2 separate regions of the Homo sapiens genome follow, and region 1 is linked to region 2. Evidence: promoter capture Hi-C in human tissues and cell types (Jung and others, 2019). All regions are on one chromosome and are shown on one strand. Each heading gives the region's core, a stretch centred on a gene start or on the middle of the fragment in contact. The rest is flanking DNA. Distances are from core to core; before and after follow the strand shown. Region 1 has its middle 8.2 kb from the start of OR7E24. Region 2 holds the start of ZNF699 (zinc finger protein 699).

What was found. Contacts are between HindIII fragments. The study calls those that stand out against the background at their distance.
Region 1: a fragment that was not itself captured here is called in contact with the fragment with the promoter of ZNF699 in region 2 in 3 of the 25 tissues and cell types used here (mesendoderm cells, pancreas and thymus).

The regions. Positions count from the first base shown.
Region 1 is chr19:9,239,846-9,245,674 of GRCh38, forward strand. It overlaps a transcript of OR7E24 not described here. Among named protein-coding and RNA genes, the nearest start is that of OR7E24, 8.2 kb to the right of the region's middle. The HindIII fragment of the contact is 9,125 bases long and covers 1-5,829 here.
Region 2 is chr19:9,306,280-9,312,513 of GRCh38, forward strand. ZNF699 (zinc finger protein 699) reads right to left here and starts at 3,559. Exons shown (of 6, transcript NM_198535.3): 1 at 3,071-3,559. RefSeq lists silencers at 3,229-3,478, 5,834-6,128 and an enhancer at 3,539-3,658. The HindIII fragment of the contact is 17,114 bases long and covers 1-6,234 here.

The DNA.
Region 1 (5,829 bases), core at 1,155-3,654, 68 kb before region 2:
TTACAGGCACATGCCACAGTGCCCGGCAAATTTTTGTATTTTTAATAGAGATGGGGTTTCACCATATTGGTCAGGCTGGTCTCGAACTGACCTCAAGTGATACACCCGCCTTGGCCTCCCAAAGTGCTGGGATTACAGGCATGAGCCACTGTGCCTGGCCTGAATATTCCCTCTTGAATAGGTCGTTTTTTCTTTTTTAAAATTTAGTCGAGATGGGGTCTCCCTAGGTGGCCCAGTCTGGTCTCAAACTCCTGGGCTCAAGTGATCCTCCTGCCTTGGCCTCTCCAAAGTGCTGGGTTTACAGGCCTGAGCCACCACACCAGGCCCCCTCTTTAATTTTGCAATTGTATTCTCCCATTCCATAGGATGTCTCTTCACTCTATAGATTGTTTCTTTTGCTGTGTGGGAACTTTTTAGCCTGATGCAATCTCATTTTTCTGTTTTTGCCTTTGTTGCTTGTGTTTTGGGTTCTTATCCAAAAAATCATTGCCCAGTGTAATTTCATGGAGGATTATTCCTATGTTTTCTTTTAGTGGTTTTGCATTTTCAGGTTTACTGAGACCTGAGATGAGGAGCTAATTTCATTCCTCTGCATGTGGTTTTCCAGTTTTCCCAGCACCATTTATGGAAGAGACTGTCCTTTCCCCACTGTGTGTTCTCGGCATCTTTGTCAAAAAATGATTTGCCATAAATTCATTGATTCATTTCTGCACCACCTCTTCTGTTCCATTGTCCTTTGTATCTGTGTTTCTATTGGTACCATGCTCCATTTTCTTAACAGAACATTTTGATAGAGAAAAGTTTTAAAATTTGATGAAGTTCAATATATCTATTTTTTTGTTTTGTTACTCATGCTTTCACTGTTGTATCTAACAATCTGCTTCCAAATAAAGTGTAATCAAGATATTCCTGTATGTTTTTTTCTAAGAGTTTTATGATTTTAGCTACATTATATTTAAGCTATTGACTTTTTATTTATTTATTTATTTTGAGACACAGTCTCTCTCTGTCACCCAGGCTGGAGTGCAGAGGTGTGATCTCGGCTCTCTGCAACCTCTGCCTCCCGGGTTCAAGTGATTCTCCTGCCTCAGCCTCCCAGGTAGCTGGGATTACAGGTGCCCGCCACCACGCCTGGCTAATTTTTGTATTTTTGATGGAGATGGGGTTTCACATGTTAGTCAGGCCGGTCTTGAACTCCTGACCTCAAGTGATCCACCCGCCTCGGCCACCCAAATGCTGGGATTACAGGCATGAGCCATTGCGCCAGGCCTGTTGATCTGTTTTTTATTTGATTTGATTTTTGTACATGGCAGAAAGTAGGGTTCAATCTACTTTCCTTTGCATCGAGTTTGTTCTTGGAAGGGTTTAGTTTGTTGTGCTGTGAAACACCTTATTAATAACATCCACTTGGCAGCAGAATGTGTTAGCCTAGGGTTCAATCTGTCTAAGTGGTGGTTGTCAGAGAGATCATTGGGTTTATAAAAAGGTCACAAAGGCAAGATTATGTTTGACAGAGCCCTGCTCATGAACATTCAGTTCCTCAGCAGACCAGCCTCTTGTCCATGACAGATCAAGGTCTCAGAACTAAGTGGATGTTGTAGGTCCATTAGGCAAATGTGAATTTAAATATCCCGGCTCGACCAGGCTTGGTGGCTCATGCTTGTAATCCCAGCACTTTGGGGGCTGAGGTGGGTGGATCACTTGAGGTCACGAGTTCAAGACCAGCCTGGCCAATGTGGTGAAACCCCATCTCTGCTAAAAATGCAAAATTAGCTGGGTGTGGTGGTGGGTGCCTGTAATCTCAGCTACTTGGGAGACTGAGGCAGGAGAATTGCTTGAATCTGGGAGGTAGAGGTTGCAGTGAGCTGAGATTGCGCCATTGCATTCCAGCCTGGGCGACAGAGTGAGACTTTGTCTCAAAAACAACAACTACAAAACTAAAAGAAAACAAGAAATAAATATCCTGGCTCTTTTTCTCCTGAAAATCACATGCTTCATTTTTACTCTTCCCAAAACACTTGTGATTTGGCTTTTGCTACATGTTTTTACTTTAGGTTCTCTCAGTAACTCCCTTGGTAATTTCCTTCTAACTTTTCCGTTTTATATACAGTCTTTAAAGTTCCATCTTTGGTCCATTTTCTTAGAGCCACTCTTGAGAGTTCTCACGTGTTGTTTGAAACACTTATCATATCGAGTGCTGATATGATGACATGCTTTCCTCAAAAATTACCCATTTGCATGTTAGCACCCTTCACCTAAACTTGGTTGTGTTCTTGTTTCCTCTGGAAGAAATTGGATGAAAATCATACAATAGTCAAGGCAACGTGTTTCCCTTTTAGGATTGTGCTTGTTGCTTTACATGTATGGCTTTATTTAATCCTGAAAACATTTCTTTCTTTTTGTTTTTGTTTTGTTTTGTTTTGAGACACAGTTTCACTCTGTCACCCAGGCTGGAGTGCCATGGCGCTATCTCAGCCCACGGCAACCACCTCCCGGGTTCAAGCAATTCTTGTGTCTCAGCCTCCCAAGTAGCTGGAATTATAAGTGTGCACCACCACACCTGGCTAATTTTTTTTGTATTTTTAGTAGAGATGGGGTTTTGCCATGTTGGCCAGGCTGATCTCAAACTCCTGACCTCAAGTGATCCACCTGCCTCGGCCTCCCAAAGTGCTGGGATTATAGGCATGAGCCACCACAGTTGGCCCTGAAAACATTTCTTTGACATGTCTTTTCTCATTCACCTTGTTCCACAAAGGAAGAAGCAGATAGAGGTGAACTATAACCTGGCAACTTGACGTTGAGACCACACTCCAACTTTGCTATCCTTTATTTCATAAGAACAGTGATGTGATTTTTCACATCAAATTAGGAATGTAGATTTGTAAGCTTGTTTGTTCTGATGATTCATAGTAATGAACTGCCTAGAATAACTGAGACGTTGCTTCCTTCTTTGTGATTATTCCTTTTCTTCCCTCCCTCCCTCCTTTTTTACTTTCTTCCTTTCCTCTTCTTTCTTCCCTCATTCCCTCCTCTTTCTTCCCTCATTCCCTCCTCTTTCTTCTCTCATTCCCTCCTTCCTTCTTGTCTTTCTTTCTTTCCTTCTTTATTTGACCTTTATTTCCCATAATTGCAGTTTTATGATCTAACCCCAGATTGTAGAACATGTAATAATTATACGATAGAAAAGATTTGTTCTCTCATATAGTTTAATTTTCTTCTGAGACTTTCTGGAGATGTCTTCAGGAATGGAAGCCACAGAATGTGGACTGTGTTTGGGATGCAGTTCACCCTTTTGATGAGAACTGGTAGAACTGGGTCTGCAGTGAAGGATGGGGTAGTAGATGGTGTCAGGGTTCATCCCACATCCCTAAGACCCTCCCGCCATCTCCACACACACCATCCTGTCTGCCAATGGTCAGCATCAGCTGAGGGATCCACTTTCCCCAATGCATGGTGGCAGAAAGGTAATGAATGCTTACAATTTTATGTTGCTCTGGCATTTTTTTTTTTTTTTTTGAGCCAGTGTCTCACAGTATTGTGCAGGCTGGAGTACAGTGGCTCACTGAAATCTTGAACTCCTGGGCTCAAGTGATCCTCCTCAGTCTCCCAAGTAGCTGGGACTACAGGCATGCATCATCACACCCAGTTAGGGGGTCTCTCTATGTGACTCAGGCTTGTCTTGAAATCCTGGCCTCAAACCAGGATTGGCCACCTTGGCTTCCTGAAGCACTGGGATTGTAGGTGTGAACCACTGCACCTGGCAGGCATCTATTTTGAATACAGGCTTAGCTTTCTGATGCTAGAGGCAGGGTTCCATTGCCTTTGACACAGTTTCCAATTCCACACCACCCTCAAATGGCTCAAGCTGGTGCAATTGTTGCTCCTTGCATCATCCTTTGAAAGTGCAAGTTGTAAAAGTTTATGGATTCACCTCAGAGGGTTTATCTGAGAAGTTGCCTCAAGCAGTTAGAAGATACAGCTTCCTGATGCAACTTCAGCTGCAGAGACCAGGGAAGGAGGGGAGGCCTTAGAGGCCTGAGACTTCTGCTGGCATCCTTCTCACCAGGCTGCCTCCTCCCGGGAGAGTCCCTCCTTCAGCCCCAGTCCCTGTGCAGGAGCCTGGTTTCTGGAAAAGGCCCCACAGCCTGGTGGACACAGACCCAATTCCAGTATCAGACCCATCAGTGACCACTGTGTTGGGATTCAACAGCCTCTCCAGACTGTGATTCTCACTGGCAAAATAAAAAATCTGTCTGTCTTTATTTGATCAGGAGTACTAAGGCTCCAATGAGACAGTGTATTTGAAAAACCTTGGGAATCCACTCTCCAAAGCCTAGCAGGTTTTGTTACTATTATCCAACTCAATGTACAATTCTAAGGTAAATTGAAAAAATGTATAAATCCATTAAAAAGAAAAGTTGAAGGTCTCACATTTCCTGGTTTCCAAATAAACTACAAAGATCCAGGAATTAAAACAGTGTGGTACTATAATACATAAAGACACATATACAGAAAAATGGAAGAGTAAAGAGAGCCCAGAAAGAAACTCTCACTTATATGGTCACATGATTTTCCACATGGGTGCCAAGAACATTCATTGGGAAAAAGACAGCCTTTTCAACAAACGGTGTAGGAAAAACTTGATTTCAAAATGCAGAAGAATGAAGGTGGGTTCTTACCTTACACCATATGCAAAAGTTAACACAAAATGGATCAAAGGCCTAAACCTAAATTCCAAACCTATAAAATTCTTAAAGAAAACATTGATCAATACCTTCATGACATTGGATTTGGTAATGATTTGATCAATACCTTCATGACACTGGATTTCTTAGTGATTTCTTGAATATGTCACCAAAAGCACAGACAACAATATATAGATAACTTGGACTACATCAAAATTAAAAAACCTTTGTAACTCAAAGGATATACTATCATCAGAGTCAAAAGTTAACCCAGGGAATAGGAAAATATATCTGTAAATCATATATATATGCTTAGAGGCTAACAACCAAACAATATTAAGAACTCCTACAACTCAGCAACCAAACAAATGCCCATTAAAAATGGGCAGAAGGCCAGGTGTGGTGGCTTACACCTATAATCCCAGCACTCTGGGAGGCCAAGGCGGGCAGATCACCTGAGGTCAGGAGTTCAAGACCAGCCTGGCCAACATGGTGAAACTCCGTTTCTAGTAAAAATACAAAAAAATACAAAAAAAATTAGCGGGCGGGTGGCCTGCACCTATAGTCCCAGCTACTCAGGAGGCTGAGTCACGAGAATCGCTTGAACCCGGGTGGTGAAGTTTGCAGTGAGCCAAGATCATGCCACTGCATTCCAGCCTGGGTGACAGAGCAAGACTCCGTCTCAATAAAGAAAAAAAAAAATTGGGCAGAGGACTTGAATAGACATTTCTCTAAAGAACATATGCAAATGGCCAATGAGCATACAAAATGATACCCAGCATCACTCATCAATAGGGGCATGCAAATAAAAATCACAATGAGATACCACCCAATAGGATGGCTATTAAGAACAAACAAGCAAAAAAACCTGTCGAGTTTTGGTGAAACTGTAGGGAAGGAGGAATGCTTACACAGGGCTATGGAAATGTAAAATGGTGCAGCAGTATGAAAATCCATATGATGGTTCCTCATAAAATGAAAAATAGAACTACCATAGGATGCTGCAAGTTCACTTCTGGGTGCATACTTAAAAGGATCGAAAACAGGGATTTGAACAGATATTTGTATAACCATGTGTGGAGGAAAAGTTAAATATTAAATTCGAACTCAATTGAACATGGACACAAACAATGGTCAGCAAGTC
Region 2 (6,234 bases), core at 2,309-4,808:
TACTCAGGAGGCTGAGGCAGGAGAATCGCTTGAACCCGGGAGGCGGAGGTTGCAGCAAGCCGAGATTGCGCCACTGTACTCCAGCCTGGGAGACAGAGCGAGACTCCATCTCAAAAAAAAAAAAACACTTGACCTGTGTCAGCCCTGATGTGGTATCTGCAGTGCTGTTTCACAAATTTCAAACAACGACATGTTAACAGTTACTTCCACTGCAGTGGAACAAGTAGCATTTTAAAAAGCCAATAAAAAACTGTAACATTCTTTGCTGTATTAGTAACAATATATGCCATCTGGACAACCCTGATGTGAGAATGACTTTGCAAAGAAATGGCCACATTTTAGAATATTTCTCACAGAAGCTCTGCAAATCAAATATTATTACAACCAGTTTAGAATTATCTTAGAATGAGTCAATTAACCACATCTTCAATATTACCCAATTAGACAGCTGCTGAGGCAGGGTATGAATGCAGGCCTATTTGTCTTCAAAACCCAAACACCCAGTGAGTACATTTTTGAACACATACCTTAAATTTTAATTGTTTTTAAGCCCCTTATTCCCTAGTTTTACCAGGATTTAGCCTAGAACCCTATTGGGCACTACAGAGAGTGGACAAATGAAGCATTCTAATCAAATATGCTGTGCGTGGTAGCTCATGCTTGTAATCCCAGCACTTTGGGAGACCAAGGTCGGGGGAATCACATGAGGTCAGGAGTTCAAGACCAGCCTGGCCAAAATGGCGAAACCCTGTCTCTACTAAAACTACAAAAATCAGCCGGGCATGGTGGCGCACAGCTGTAGTCCCAGCTACTCAGGAGGCTGAGGCAGGAGAATTGTGTGAACTCAGGAGGCAGAGGTTGCAGTAAGCCGAAATCACACCACTGCACTCCAGCCTGGGCAACAGAGCCAGACTCTGTCTCAAAATAAATAAAATAAATAAATAATCAAATATGTTATCTTTGAGCTCCTTTTCCTAAGGCCTATGTCTTGGGCAACGATGCTTCCCTTATAGCCCTTACCTCCTTCGTTTCATGTTTATTTAGGTGACATTTATCCTGACCCTACTACATGAAGTCACAAGGAATAAGGCATAGAAAAATAAAAAAGAAAAATCCTGAAGCAAATGAATGTTATAATATTTTGGGTAAGACATTAAACAAAATACATCAGGTAGAGATACATGCTATATAAAAAATGTAGCACATTATAGGGATAAGGAGACACGTAACATATTTATCTTTAGCAAGTCAGGACAGGTAATGTGGCAGGGTAGAAGCAGAAAATTAAAATAACTATTTCAGATCATGCTGGAATTTCAGAGGGTTTAGTATATCTATTATATATTTATAAGCATTATCAACTCCTAGAGGAAAAAAAATCAGTACTGGCCAGGCACGGTGGCTCACACCTGTAATCCCAGCACTTTGGGAGGCCAAGGTGGGTGGATCACAAGGTCAGGAGTTCAAGACCAGCCTGGCCAAGATGGTGAAACCCACCTCTACTAAAAATACAAAAAAATTAGCTGGGCATGGTGGCAGGTGCCTGTAATCGCCACTACTTGGGAGGCTGAGGCAGAGAATTGTTTGAACCCAGGAGGCAGAGGTTGCAGTGAGCCAAGATCACGCCACTGCACTCCAGCCTGGGAGACACAGCGAGACTCTGTCTCAAAAAAAAAAAAAAAAATCGGTATTAATAGGCTAGACTATTGATATATAAAGTTGAATAAAGACCAGCATAAAAGTTTAGAAAGAAAATAGAAAATAATCTTTTTTAAAACATAGTAAACAAAATCAGAAAAGCTAAAAAAGCATCCTTTGCAAAAAGAAAAACTAATGAAACTGACAAACTCAGCTTTTTAAAAAAATTTTTTAATTTAATTTATTGTTTAAGACAGACTCTTTATGTTCCCAGGTTGATCTCATTTCCTAGGCTCAAGCGATCCATCTGCCTTAGCTTCCCACCAGCTGGGACTACAGATATGCGCCACTGCAGCCAGCAACAGACTCAGCAATTTTAAGAGCAACAGGGCATAAACAACAACAACAAAAAAAAAATGAACAAGAATTAATCATAATTACAGATATCATAAGGAGAATATAGAAAAAATTTAAGGAATAAATATGAAGATGCACAGGTAATTAATGAATTTCTAGAAAGTAGTACAACTTTCAAGCAGTGATCTAAAACCTGATTACACCCAGTAATTAAAGAAAAAAAAATCAGCGGTTTAAAACACGGTCAGGCCGGGTGCAGTGGCTCATGCCTGTAATTCCAGCACTTTGGGAGGCGGAGAGCCCATGAGTTCGAGACCTGCCCGGGCAACAGAGCGAGACTCCTATTTTCTAAAAAGAAATAGGAATAAAGAAAGGAAAAAAACCTACAAACACCTACAGCAAACATCCTATTTAATGGTGAAATGATAGAATAATTCCCTCTGGAATCAGAAACAAGACAGGATGTAAATTACATGCTATTCTGTCGGACATTGTACTGGAGGTCCTGGCAAGTGCAGTAAAGAAATGAAAAGAAATGGAAACTGCAAGGAATAAAAAGGGAAAAGATTGAAACTGACAGATGACCAAATTTTCTGTGTGAAATTTAACCAATCTATAGACAAATGATTCAAATGCATCATTAATGACAAAATGCATCAGTTCACTTTCACTTGAATATAATGTATCAAACTGATGTCCACAGGCAGAATATAATATCCAGAGACCAAATACTATCTTTTTGTTTTTTTGAGACAGTGTCTCGCTCTGTTGCCCAGGCTGGAGTGCAGTGATGCGATCTCAGCTCACTGCAACCTCTGCCTCCCGAGTAGCTGGGAACACAGGAGAGCACCTTTTATTTTACTTTTTTTTTTTTTTTTTTTTTTGGTAGAGACGGGATCTTGCTATGTTGCCCAGGCTGGCCTCAAACTCCTGGGCTCAAGCGATCCGCCCGCCTCGGCCGCCCAAAGTGCTGGGATTACAGGCGTGAACCACCGCGCTTGGCCCAAACACTACCTAATGCATAAAGAGGGGACAGGAGGGGACCGAGCCGAGGCAAATGTCACCCCGTGCTCACCCGACACGCCGCGATCCACAGATCAGCTCACAGAGAACGAGGCTGAAGCGCTTGTCCTTGAGACACGAATGGCAGAGATGCTCTTCCTTTCTGGAAAGAGAGCAAAGGATGCTTTCGGAGGCTGATGAACTACGACATTGGTTCTCCAACTCTCGCCTGCATCAGAATCACCCCGATTTCTGTACCCAGACCAGAGTTCCCGATTCAGTGAGTTTGGGACCAGCCGCGGCCACAGGGGCAGCTGACCCGGGCTCTCTGAGGAGGCGCCGCGGCGGCGGGAGGCCCCGGGCGCGGGGTCCGGACAAGGAGTGGCGGGGAGGCAGCCCTTAGACCGCCGATTCCCAAACCCAGCCCTCGGTCTCCCGCGGACCCGACCCGGGGCAGGCAGGGCGGGGCGGGGCAGGGCAGGACAGGAAGCGGGCGGAGGCAAAAATGTTCCTCAGACGCGGGCGGAGGCGTAGGGTGACAAGGCTGTCGACTCGCGCATGCGCAGAAGCACACTTCTGATTCCTCTTTCGGCGCTGCAAATGGCGTATGGGGCGGGGCCTGGGAAGCGGGACTTGAGGTGAAGGGGGTGGAGCAGGTAGGAGCGGGATGCAAAGGAGCGCCAAGGCTGGTTCCAGCCGCAAGTGGATGAGAAATCCTAGTTTCTTCATGATTTGGAGTAAACAGAGAAGAAACAGAACCCTGAACTGGACTTGCATGACTCGGCCTGAGGGGCGGAACTGGGGCTAGACCTAGGGGCGTGGCCTTTTAAATACTCCAAGGGGCGGGGCTAAAGGTGGAACCAGATTGGGAGCGGGGCTTGGTAGAAATTCCTAGGGGGCGGAGACGAGGGCTGGGCGGGGCTTAAGTGACAAGGCCTAGGGATGGGGCTAAGGCTAGGGCTTCCCATCCAGGTTCTCAGCTACCACGGATACAGGATGCTCATCGATCGGGTTTCTACCTATCCTCCACGTTGCTACAGTCCTGTACACAGGACACATATATTTGCAGCTCTAATAGGAAACAGACTCTCCTTGACACTCACTCAGTCCTTTTGGGCCTTTTAGTTTTCCCTTTCATTGTTGTATTGATAACTTCTCCTGTAGAGGGAAGCCATTGATAATTATTTAAATAGAACCTTTTTCCTGGAAACTTGCTGAATTCTGATAGCTGTCAGTTTATTATTTGAACCATCAAATATAAATATTTTCTCTGCATATTTTCATTGTTTTAATGTGTATAACTCATTTCTTTATGTGAGGCAATGTCTCATTCTATCGCCTAGACTGGAGTGCAGTGGCGCGACCATGGCTCACTGCAGCCTTGACTTCCCCAGCTCAAGTGATGGTCCCATCTCAGCCCCCCAAGTAGCTGAGAATACAGTCGCGTACCACCCCACCCAGCTATTTTCTTTATTTTTTTGTAGAGATGGGATCGCACTATGTTGCTGAAGCTGGTCTCAAACTCCTGAGCTCAAGCTATCCTCTCACCTCAGCCTCCCAGAGTGCTAGGGGTACAGGTGTAAGCCACCACACCCAGAGTCATTTCTTTTTCTTATTGTTTGTTTAGGGCTTCCTCAACTATAAGTCGGAAAGAAATTAAGCATTCTTGTCTTGGTCGGTAATGATTACCAAAGTTCCTCAGTAAGCTGTTTACAACAGGTTGCACCTCTTATCAAGTTAATCTTTTTAAACCAGGTTTATAAAGATATTTTATCAATAATTTTTTATGAACACTATCAAATGTTTATGCAACAATTGAGTTGATAACATAATTTTGCTCCTCTTAGTTTATAATATGATATCCATATAAAATATTTAATTTTAGGCAAGGCGCAGTGGCTCATGCCTGTAATCCCAGCACTTTGGGAGGCCGAGGCCGGTGGATTACCTGAGGTCAGGTGTTCAAGACCAGCCTGGCTACCATGGTGAAACCCCATCTCTACTAAAAATACAAAAAATTAGCTGGGCATGGTGGCGGGTGCCTGTAATCCCAGCTACTCAGGAGGCTGAGGCAAGGAGAATCGCTTGAACCTGGGAGGCAGAGGTTGCAGTGAGCTGAGATCGCGCCATTGCACTCCAGCCTGGGCGACAATAGAAAGACTCCATCTCAAAAATATATATATTCAATTTTATATATCCCCAATGAATCTATACTTTTAGTAAAATGGTTTCTGAGTTTCCTAGTTTGCTTTTAAATGTCTCCCCAAACTCTAAAATATAAAAATACTTCCTAATTTACTTCCAAATTGTACTGCTTTTTAAAACGTATAATTCTTTACTGCTCAGGGAATGTATTTTGGTATAATATGAGGTAGAGATGTGTTATATAAGTGAACCACAGGTGGCCTTTCTGTATTGGTCCCTAGGTTGTTCATTACTTCTTCACTGCGGCTTGAGGTCACCTTCCCAATGCCTGTCCCTGGTGCCCTAGCCAGCTCCCTTTCATCATCTATGTTTTTTAAGTGTAAATCTTTTTCTATTATGAAGCATTATGTTCTCATTGTAGTTTTTTATTTTAAAGGAAAAGTATAAGGAAAAGACAAACAACATTCAGAATCCCAGCAGTGTTTGAATTTTCTGTATTTCCTTTCTGCCTTCTTTGTACGCGTGGGTGGCAAGCCACCCAGGTGCCAAGGCAAGAGACCGAGGGCACAAGCTGTTCCAGTATAATAAAGAAAATATATAGAATAAGAGTAGTTATACTAGAAATAGATTATAGATATGATTGTATATATCATTAATCATTTGTAGCATTACTCTTTATTCCAATATTATAATAATCTTTGTTCTACAATCATAACCTAGGAAAAACCAGGCCATACAGAGATAGGAGCTGAAGGGACATGGTGAGAAGTGACCAGAAGACAAGGGTGAGCCCTCTGTTATGCCTGGACAGAGCCACCAGAGGGCTCCCTGGTCTAGCGGTAATGCCAGCCCCTGGGAAGGAGCCCGTTACCTAGCGGACCTTGGTCTAGCAGTAGCGTCAGTGCCTGGGGAAGGCACCCATTGCTTAGCAGACAGGGAAAGGGAGTCTCCCTTTCCCCGGGGGAGTTAGAGAAGACTCTGCTCACTACCTCTTGCGGAAAGCCTGACATCAGTCAGGCCCGCCCGCAGCCATCCAGAGGCCTAAACGTCTCCCTGTGATGCCGTGCTTCAGTGGTCACACTCCTGGTCCAC